2 separate regions of the Homo sapiens genome follow, and region 1 is linked to region 2. The links are contacts of gene promoters, found by promoter capture Hi-C in human tissues and cell types (Jung and others, 2019). All regions are on one chromosome and are shown on one strand. The core of a region is centred on a gene start or on the middle of the fragment in contact, and the rest is flanking DNA. Distances in the headings are between cores, read along the strand shown.

Region 1 (5,298 bases), core at 2,799-5,298, 620 kb after region 2:
GAGTTGGGAGAGGAAGGGGGGCAGGGACTTAGAGGCAAGCGCCTACACGTGTGGCTTCGCCGTGAGCAGGGTGCCGGGAGCGGGTGTGTGGGGCTCGGGTCCGTGTGAGGTGGTGTATGATGGTGACACCCCTCTGCTGCCCTCTCACCCTAAGTGGCACACACAGACAGCTGTCTCTCCTGTGAGGGGACATCCGCAAAATGGCTGGGAACGGGGCTCTTGTGCAGGTTGGTGGATCTACAGGCGATGGGGCCCCTCACCCTGACCCTGGCCCAGACCCCTGGGAGGAGGTGTGCTACAGCCGTGAGCAGGGGCCCAGCTACAGTAAGCCTGGACTGGGAGGGCCCTACCCCTCTGTGCCCTTCCCTTCCAAAAGGTCTCTGTGGGGGTGAAGGTGGGGACTCCCTGGCTCCTGAAAGAATGTGAGTCAAATCCCCTGGGGAGAAGGAGCTGCAGGGTGCCGCCCTCGGAAGTTCCGACTGCCTGAGTTCCAAAACCAGCTTGAGCCACGAATGTTCCCTGCCGTGAGCCTCAGTTTTGCCATCTGTGTATGGGGGCTTCTAACAGCCCTTACCACCCGATGGGACTGTCGTGGGGCTAAGGCCATCTTTGTAAAGCAGTTAGCACAGAGACTGACACTGACCAAATGTAGTGATTATTATTAGTAGTATCAATATTGATTTATGAAATTGATTTCTACTGTGGGCCAGCTCCCACACAGGGCATTGGGGGATGGGGCAGGAGGATTGTTTGGGCCAGGGAGAGGACTGGGAGTTCAAGTGTGTAGGAGAGTATGTGGGAGTGGTGTGTGCAGGTGGTTAGGGCAGAAGGAAAGAAAGGAGAGCCCGCTGCAAGTGTCAGCCTGCGTCTGTGGGTAGATATCCTGCTGGTGGGCCGGGCATGGTGGCTTATGCCTGTAATCTCAGCACTTTGGGAGGGCAGGGTGGGCAGATCACTTGAGCTTAGGAGTTTGAGACTAGCCTGGCCAACACAGGGACACCCTGTTTTTACAAAAATACAAAAATTAGCCGGGTGCGGTGGCACAGGCCTGTAGTCCCAGCTACTTGGGGGTTTGAGGTGGGAGGATCGCTTGAGCCTGGGAGGTGGAGGCTGCAGCGAGCTGTGTTCATGCCATGGCACTCCAGCCTGGGCCATCGAGTGAGACGCTGTCCAAAAAAAAAAAAGAGAAAAAGAGAAAGAGGAAAGAAAGAGAAGAAAAGAAAGAAAGAAAGAAAGGAAGGAAGGAAGGAAGGAAGGAAGGAAGGAAGGAAGGAAGAGAAATAAAAGAAGAAAAGAAAAGAAAGAAAAATAGAAATTCTGCTGGTAGAGGAGGACTGTTAGGAAGGTCTGCACTCAGTGTCTACACTCGGGCTTCTCTTAATCAAATCGACATGAGAGTTTGGGGTGGGGCAGGAGTGAGTCTGCGTGTCTGAGGCTAGCGGTGTGGGAATCAAGTGTAAGAGGGTGTGTTACGGGACCTGTGAGCTAATGGGAGGTGAGAGAGGAAGGTGGGGTCACAGCTCACCGTGGGTAAGGTGTGAGGTGGCCACTATAGGGCCCTGGAGGCCAGAGTGATCGTAGGGGTGTCAGTGCCCCTCACTTAATCCCCTTGTCACCACTCCAGGCCATATGTGAATCAGAGACCTACCTCCTGTTCCAGGAGAGGGGCCGGCCAAGACCTTACCTGGCTTAGATGGGCGAGTTTGTGGAAAGGGTCTAAGACTAGAGGAGTGTGTGTGTGTGTGTGTGTGTGTGTGTGTGTGTGTAGAAGTGACCGTGAGTGTAGGAGGCCTTGACTGGATCTCTCTCTTGGGGGGATTTCAAGTGACAAAAATGGTGAAGGCTAGCGGGCCACTTCTGTCGGCTGGGGCGCCCCCTGGTGGATGAGGGCGTTTGTGGGCGTGTTAATTACAGCAGCCGCCCAAATTTGAATGCTGGCTCTACAGGGGTCCGGGTGGAAGAGGGGAAGGGGAAAGGGGGAGAAGGGGTGGGAAGGGGAAAGGGGGAGGAGGGGTGAGACGGGAGGGGGGACGGGGTGGTGGTGTTGCAGAGAGACTGGGTCAGTTTGTGACTCAGTGGGTCTGCTCACTCCCTGGGGATCTCTTCGGGTGGAGTCAGTGTGGGTGACAGTGGGAGAGAGAAGGAGGTCAGGACTACTTGGGGAGGGCCGTCAGGGGTGCCTGCCTCCTTCCTTCAGTCTTACCTTCAAAGAGCCGCCAGGGCATGCGGGCATGTGAGGTTACCTTCCTGTGCCTCAGATTCCTCACCTGGAAAATGCAGATAATAAAAGCATCCCGGGGTGAACTGTGCCCAGCACATGATGGGTGCATTTACTCATTCAACAAATATCTACTGAGCATCTATTTTTTTTTTTTTTTTTGGAGACAGGGTCTTGCTCAGTTGTCCAGGCTGGAGTGTAGTGGTGTGATCATAGCTCACTGCAGCTTCGATCTCCTGGGTTCAACCAATCCTCCTGACTCAGCCTCCTGAGTAGCTGGGACCATAGGCATGTGCCACCATGCCCAGCTATTTATTTTTTTTTTAGTAGAGACCAGGTCTCGCTATGTTGCCCAGGCTGTTCTCCTGAGCTCAAGCGGTCCTCTCATCTCAGCCTCCCAGATTGCTGGGATTACAGGCATGAGTCACGGCGCCCTGCTTACTTAGTTTTTTGTTTGTTTGTTTGTTTGTTTGTTTGCTTTTAGAGACAGAGTCTCGCTCTGCCACCCAGGCTGGAGTGCAGTGGTGAGACCACAGCTCACTGCAGCCTCAGCCTCCCAGGTTCAAGCTATCCTCCCACTTTAGCCTTGCAAGTAGCTGGGACTACACTGCTGCGCCATCATGCCCAGCTAATTTTAATTTTTTTTTGTAGACACAGGGGTCTGGATATGTTGCCCAGGTTGGTCTCAAACTCCTGGGCTCAAGCAGTGCTCTCATCTAGGCCTCCCGAAGTACTGGGATTGCAGACTGGAGCCATCGCACCTGGCCGCATTATTCTTTCTTTCTTATTATTTATTTATTTATTTTTGAGAGGGAGTCTCACTCTTGTTGCCCAGGCTGGAGTGCAATGGCACGATCTCAGCTCACTGCAACCTCCACCTCCTGAGTTCAAGTGATTCTCCTGCCTCAGCCTCCTGAGTGGGGGAGTATAAGCATGCGCCACCATGCCCGGCTAATTTTGTATTTTTAGTAGAGACTACTACCATGTTGGCCAGGCTGGTCTCGAACTCCCATCCTCAGGTGATCCACCTGCCTGGGCCTCCCAAAGTGCCGGGATTACAGGTGTGAGCCACTGCGCCTGGCCTGCCAGTCACCTCTTAAAATGCTTTACCTATATTTACTCATTTAATCCTCACAACACTCCAGTGAGGCATCATCCTCTTTTTACAGATGAGGAAACTGAGGCCCAGAAAGGTTAAGTCATTTGCCAAGGTCACATGGCCACCAAGTGGCAGAGCTAGGATTTGAACCCTGGAGGTGTGACTACTGTTTCTAACCTGCACTGCTGCTGTCAGGCCTGCAGAAGGCGTTGAGCAGGGCGGGGTGACCGTGAGCGTGGCTGCTGGGAGAGACAGCCCCGGGTGGGGTCTCTGGAGCCAGGAGGGACTTGGGTGGGGGGCGGTGAGGGGGTGTCTGCTGGAAGCATGTTGGTGAGAAGTCTGTGTGGGCACCTGGGAGGTGTCTCTGCGTCTCTTAGTATTGCAGTGTGTGTGCGTGTGGCTGTGTGAGTCCGTGCGAAGGTGTGTGAGTAGGAGTGTGTGGGAGGCTGTGAGTATCCGCGTGAATGTGTGTGTAAACTGCCATGCGTGGGCGTGTGCGAGTCCAGGTGTGCATGTGGTTGTGTGCACGCGAGAGCAGGATATGTGGACGAGTGAGGGCGGGTGAGTGACGGTGCGTGCCCCGGGCCCCTCCTCCGCGCCGTCCCGTCCCCGCGGGGTCCCGGGGGCCCCCTGGCCTGGGACTACCACTCCCAGCATGGCCCGGGCGGGCCCGCCCCGTCGCCGCGATTGGCCGTGGCCCTCGTGCTCCCGCCCCCCGGGAATGAATGGATGGGCGGCCTCAGCGCCCGCCCGACCGCTGGGAGGACCGACCCGGCGGGGACCTGCTGGGGGCAGGACCCGGGGAGCAAGATGGCCACTGTCATCCCTGGCCCCCTGAGGTGGTGCGGGCCGGCGGGAGGCGGAGAGGAAGCGCGGGCGGGTCTACGCGGGCCTGTGTGTGTGTGGCGACCGGGGGTGGGGCCGAAGGGGTGTCTGGGGGGCTGTCACCGAGTGCGGGGCTGCGCGGGGGTGCGAGAGTGTGTGACTGTGGGTCTCTGACAAGAATGGTGTCGGATGCACCGCTCCCTGGCGGGGTGGAGGGCGTGGGGGGCCTCCAGATTCTTTTTGGGGAAGGGAGACATCATCCCTTCCCTGCAACCCTCGGGTCTGGGAGAGACTGAAATGACCCGGGGGTGCGGGGGCCTTGGCAACTGGAGTGAAGTCCACACTACCTTTGTCTTGGGATGTGGAGTGTGTGTGTGTATCACTTATTTGTGTTCTGGTTTTTTTAAGAATTTTTGGGGGATAGGTGTGTGGACATGTGTCTGTTTCCTTTTATTCTGCACTAGATATCTTTGGATATTTGGGTCTCCCAGTGTGTGTCCGTGTCCTTTGGAACTATATGTCATTTGTCTTGTGTTCTGTGTTTTTGGGTATGTAGGGCTGCGTGTATTTGTGTGTAAATTTTTGTGTGACTATGGGTGGATTTGGCTGTTTCTGTGTTTTATATGTGTGTGTGTCTGTGTGGATGTGTGATATTTTAGATACTGGTTGCGCATCGTGCATCTTTGTAAATGTGTGTGTGTACCTGTGTGAATCTGTGTGATTTCTTTGTGTTGTGTGTCTGGATATTGTGTGTGTGGTTTGTGTTGTGTCTTTGGATACATGGGTAAGTGCCTAGGGGCGCAAGTGGTTTCTGTAGTTCCTGTCTTTTGACATGCTTGTGTCTTTGGATGCATGAGGGGGTGTATGTGTGTGTGGTGTGATGTTTCCATGTTGTGTGTCTTTGTGTGGGTGATGTGTTTCTGGTGTGTGTCTGTGGATATGTGATGTGTCTTTGTGCATGGTTATTTGTGTGATTTGTCTCCACACTATGGAACTTGGGATATTTGTCTTTTTCAGTAGATATTTATGTGTGCACGTGTGTGAGGTTTGTCTGTTTCTCCTTTGTGAGTATTGGGATTTGTCTCTCTTTGTGTGTGAATCCCGTGTGACTGTGTGTGATTTGTGTTGTGTGTCTGCATGTGTTCAGGTAGGGATA
Region 2 (4,939 bases), core at 774-3,273:
TTGAGCCAGCATGTGTCTGCTGACCACGGGAGTGGCTGCCATGTGCCAGATGCCTTCACAGAGCCCAGTGACTGAGTAGGGAGGCAGTTAAAGGACCAGGCATATCGTGTGGACGTGCAGATCTTAGGGGAGAGAGCAGTGTGTTGGGAGATACAAAGGAATTTATTTTTCTTTTTGTTTTCTTTCTGTTATTTACTTATTTATTTATTGAGATGGAGTTTAGCCCTTGTTGCCTGGGCTGGAGTGCAGTGGTGCGATCTCAGCTCACTGCAACCTCTGCCTCCTGGGTTCAAGCAATTCTCCTGCCTCAGCCTTCCTAGTAGGATTATAGGCGCCTGCTAATTTTTTTTATTTTTAGTAGAGATCTGGTTTCGAACTCCTGACCTCAGGCAATCCACTTGCCTCAGCCTCCCAGATTACAGGTGTGAGCCACCGCGCCTGGCTAGGAATTTATTTTTAAAGATGTTTATTCTAAGTTCAAATATGAGTGACAAAGATTTGGGGAACATAGTCTCAAGAGGTCCTGAGAAAATGTGCCCCTGGGAAAAGGAATTTATTTAAAAGGGGATATGGGGCCGGGCACAGTGGCTCATGCCTGCAATCCCAGCACTTTCGGAGGCCGAGGTGGACAGATACCTGAGGTCAGGAGTTCGAGACCAGCCTAGCCAACGTGGTGAAACCCTGTCGCTAATAATACAAAAAATAGCCAGGCATGGTGGTGAACGCCTGTAATCCCAGCTACTCTGGAGGCTGAGGCAGGAGAATCGCTTGAGCCTGGGAGGCGGAGATTGCAGTGAGCCGAGACTGTGCCACTGTATTCCATCCTGGGCAACACAGCGAGACTCCATATCCAAAAAAAAAAAAAAAAGGTGGGGCATGTGTGAAGGTTGCTGAGGAGGTGATGTCCTATGAGCAAATAGGAGCTTATACTCAAGGTGGAGGAAACAGCCTCTGCAAAGGTTGTAAAGTCAGAAGGAGCTTGTGTTGGATGGAGAAATTGAAAGACCTGAGGATTGCAAAGTGGCTGGCAAGCAGACGGGTTTGGAATAGACATTGGAAGAAGCTTTTAGGGCATCCTAGACAGCGTTGCGATGCTTGGGGCAGGGGCAGGAAAAAGCCACTGATGGACTTTCAGGGCAGAGCTGTAATCGAGTTGATGTTTCAGATTTAGTCGAAGGGTGTGAGAGGGCTGAGACGGAGAAAGTGGTGTGGCAGAAGAGGTTGCTGGTGGCCATGGGTCGGGGTGCAGATTATGAGAGAACTCTGGCCAGTGACTGCTCACCCGGGGCAGCGTTGAGTCCATCAACACCGTTTTGGTCTCTTAACCTGAGGCTAGTGGCTGGGCAGTGAGCTAATCCCAAAGCTTCCGTCTGTACCACAGTCTTGGGGTGCTACCTTGTCCTTATCACACTCTGGGGTAACTTGAAGCCCTTCTCAAAGATCTCCTGTGATGGGACTTTCCTTAACTTGACTCACATTTGACTCAGTTCAAAGTGCCCAGCGGGCCAAGGCCTCTCTCAATGGGGCTGATATCTATTCTGGCTGTTGCACTCTGAAGATCGAATACGCAAAGGTACATCTGGGAGGTGACTGACTGCCCCTTGTCAGCTTCCAGGTGAGCTGGGGCATGGCTGACCTCAAGTCTTGTCTTGTCCTGTCCTTGCAGCCTACACGCTTGAATGTGTTCAAGAATGATCAGGATACTTGGGACTACACAAACCCCAATCTCAGTGGACAAGGTAATCTTGACGACCACTTTGTTCTAAACATACCCGCCTTGCTTTCACTCGACTAGTGCACTTAATAGGCCTGGGCTCAGGGTTATGTAATGCCATTGGGCCCCCCATGGACATGGGAGGGCCTTGGGGTCAGCACTTGGACACCCTAGTGGGATGGGGGAGTGAGAGGCCTCCATGGGTCTTCACTGCTGCTTGGGGCCCTCCGATGCTGCTCAGGATACAGAGGCAAGGCAGAAGCCTGGATGGGCGGGGAGCAGGGCCTCACTGAGGATGAGGCGTGGGGGCGGCCTTAGAAACCAGCAGTGGCTCCTTTGAGAGTCTGGTGAGGGTCACTCACTCCATTCTTGCTGGACCAGGAATTGTCCTCTTGTTCTGCGCTGTTGAGAGGGTCTGATTTGGGGGAGTGACAGTGTTGGGGGGCGATGAGGTCTCCTGGGCTCTTGCAGTGAGCCTTGTGAGCAAGCTGACCCTGTGGAGGTGAGACACTCTGGATTGGACCAGGGCGGACATGCCTCACATCATTTGTAGAGGGGACGCAACATCTCTGCAGGTGGCCCAAATGGACAACTCCCTTCCTAGTGTCTGTCAAGAATGGTTTGCCTTTGGTAGCAGGGAGAGGTGGAGGATTGCCTATGAGAAACAGCGGCAGCCCCCCAACAAGACCATCCATCTCGGTGTCTGTCTTGGTCTGATACGTCGGACCAGGCCATGGGCTGAGGGAGGAGGCTCGATGCTGACATCGCACAGGCCCTGAGAGGCCAGAGCCCCCCATTCCTAGGCAGGCCTGTCTTGCTCGCCCTTGCATCTGGGAAGCAGTGGGCAGGGTGGGCTAGACTCTTCCCCAGGATCCTCACAGTGGGCCCTGTGGGCCTGGCTGCTCCCTCCAAAGGTCAGAGGCAAATTGGTGACCAAGTGAATGTACCAGAGCGGGCAATGGCATTACATGACTGCTAACAGAAACATGGCAACAACCATTTCTTCTCCAAGGAACATAAATAGAAGATGTGCAGACCGGCAGGGGCTAGTGGCAGGGGGCTGGCTGTGCATTGGTTTTGATGCCTCTCAGCTTTGGCAGCCCCAAGGCTGGGGCCCAAAAAAAAACGAGGGCTGATGAGGTGACCTGGAGTGAGGGCGGTGCTTCGCCACCCCTCAGGAACCATACTTCAGCGGCTCTGCCTCTGCACATTGCTCACCAACACACAGGGTAGAAAACCACTAGCTCTTCCTGGAGAGAACAGAACATGCAGCCTCCACCACGTCCCCAGAAACAGCCGCAGACTTGAGCTCACTACATCAAGAACACCACACCGCGCTCCAAGGAACAGCTACAAGCACAGAGACAGAGGCATACAGAGACAAAGAGAGAAAGAGACGCAACATGGCAGCAGACACTGCTTTTTTTATTAAACATTAAAAAAAAGGTCAAAATCCAAGCAAACTTGAACCCGAGAATGTACACAGAAGTAGGAAACACAGAGAACAGAGCTGTCCCAGCCAGCCAGCGAGCGATGCTCTTTTCGGAGAACGTTTCATAGACGGAAGTAGATTCCATGGGCCTCCAAGACAATAGGATCCTCTCTCCATTCCTCGCCATATGGGTTTTGTTTTTTAAGTCATTTGGTTTGGGGAGGGCCTTGTTTTTTTTCTGTTTTGATATTTTTATTTTTTCTGCAGTCACCGGCTGCCAACATAATCTGCACCAACTGGAGATCAGAAACCAAAAAAAAAAAAAAAAATTTTAACCACAACAAAAAAAAAATCAAAAAAACCAAAACAGACCTAAAACCAGACAGCCAAACAGCTCAGAGGCACACAGTTACCTGCTGCCGGGTAACCAGGCGCGCTCCCAAGGCCAAAAGCGCGAGCGTAGTGGGGCCACTGGCACACCTCATACCAGGAGACACGCACACGGAGCGCTACACAGCCAGAAGCACCGCACCACCGCACTGCAGCACATATGTGAGGAGGTGACAACATGGAGGGACACTACCCACTTCATACACCTTTATTTCCACTTTTCTGATATCTTCTGAGGACAGAACATCTGTGAGCCATTTTTGATTTAATCAAAATATTGACTTTTAAAACAATTCTTTAAAAAAATTGTAGCGGATGTGTACCGTGACTTGTATTTATGACTGTAAAACCATGTGATGCAGGGTCGCAGTGTATGTTTGATGGGACGCCATCTTTCAGAACTGTGCTAACTCACTGTTGAAGCGTCCAATGGTAAGAGAAAATACAGATTTGTTTTTTGTGACAAATGGACATTGTACTCTGTACTTCTGCTGTAAGTAGTCCTTTTCCATTTTGTAATGACTGGTAACAAAACCCAGGCCGGGTGGCAGGAAAGGGCAGTGGTTTCGAGCCCTGGGTTTTGGAGTCAGCCAGACCTGGGTTCAAATATGGCTCAGCCACTGTCTTGCTTTGTGACTTTGGGCCAAAGTGTCTTTTAACTGCTCAGTTAAAAGTTAACAACTCAGTCTTCTTATCTGTAAAATGGGGCTGAAATATCAGAACCTACCTCATAGGGTTGTTGTGAGGAATTTCAGAAGCTGTGATGTCTGTAAAGCGCTTAGCCCAGTGCCTGCCACTTAAGCGCTAAGTTAAAGGCAGTGATTACGAACTGCTGGGGTCGGGGTGGATCTGCGCCATTGCTGGGTGTGGGAATGTCGATGCCTTGTACATGATTGCTTATTTGAACTGATTCTGCTGTTGCCCTGCTTGTCAGCTACAGTCAGTCCCTCTTGGGCTGGCGGGACTGGGAGGGAGGGGGGACTGGGATTAAGAAAGAAGGGATCTAACAGAGACAGTCTGGAGCTCCTAGAACTTTGGGGGCTTTGGGGGTCAAACTTGCTTGCTTCCCTCTGGGGTTATTTTCCTCTTAATCTACTCTCCCTTCATTGGGAGTCACTTTAGAAAGCTGCTTTTGGCCCGCCATAATATATCAGCTTCTGTAGCAGCTGCACATTCCCCAGAGGGCCTGGGAGCTGGGCTTTCTCCCAGGGCCAGGGTAGGTGAGAGCACAGAATCTGGCCTTGTCCTTCACAGAACAAGGCCAGCCCTTTGGTATGAGCAGGGGAAGGAGAGTGGGCACCAGCTTTGAGGCTCGGGCTTCATGCCCGCCGTAGGTCAGATCACAAAAGGAGGCCCCACAGCCCTCGAGGAAGGGAGGGCTTGCAGTTGGCAGGAGCTGGGGG

The links. Contacts are between HindIII fragments. The study calls those that stand out against the background at their distance.
Region 1: the fragment with the promoter of DPF1 here is called in contact with a fragment that was not itself captured in region 2 in 1 of the 25 tissues and cell types used here (liver).

What each region holds. Positions count from the first base shown.
Region 1 is chr19:38,222,972-38,228,269 of GRCh38, reverse strand. It overlaps DPF1 (double PHD fingers 1), which reads left to right and starts at 4,048. Exons shown (of 12, transcript NM_001135155.3): 1 at 4,048-4,156. The coding sequence starts at 4,128. RefSeq lists an enhancer at 21-791 and a silencer at 3,714-4,283. The HindIII fragment of the contact is 15,736 bases long and covers 1-5,298 here.
Region 2 is chr19:38,840,642-38,845,580 of GRCh38, reverse strand. HNRNPL (heterogeneous nuclear ribonucleoprotein L) reads left to right here. Exons shown (of 13, transcript NM_001533.3): 5 at 1,477-1,573; 6 at 1,667-1,739. Among named protein-coding and RNA genes, the nearest start is that of HNRNPL, 6.9 kb to the left of the region's middle. RefSeq lists enhancers at 2,170-2,670, 2,753-2,832. The HindIII fragment of the contact is 4,246 bases long and covers 1-4,146 here.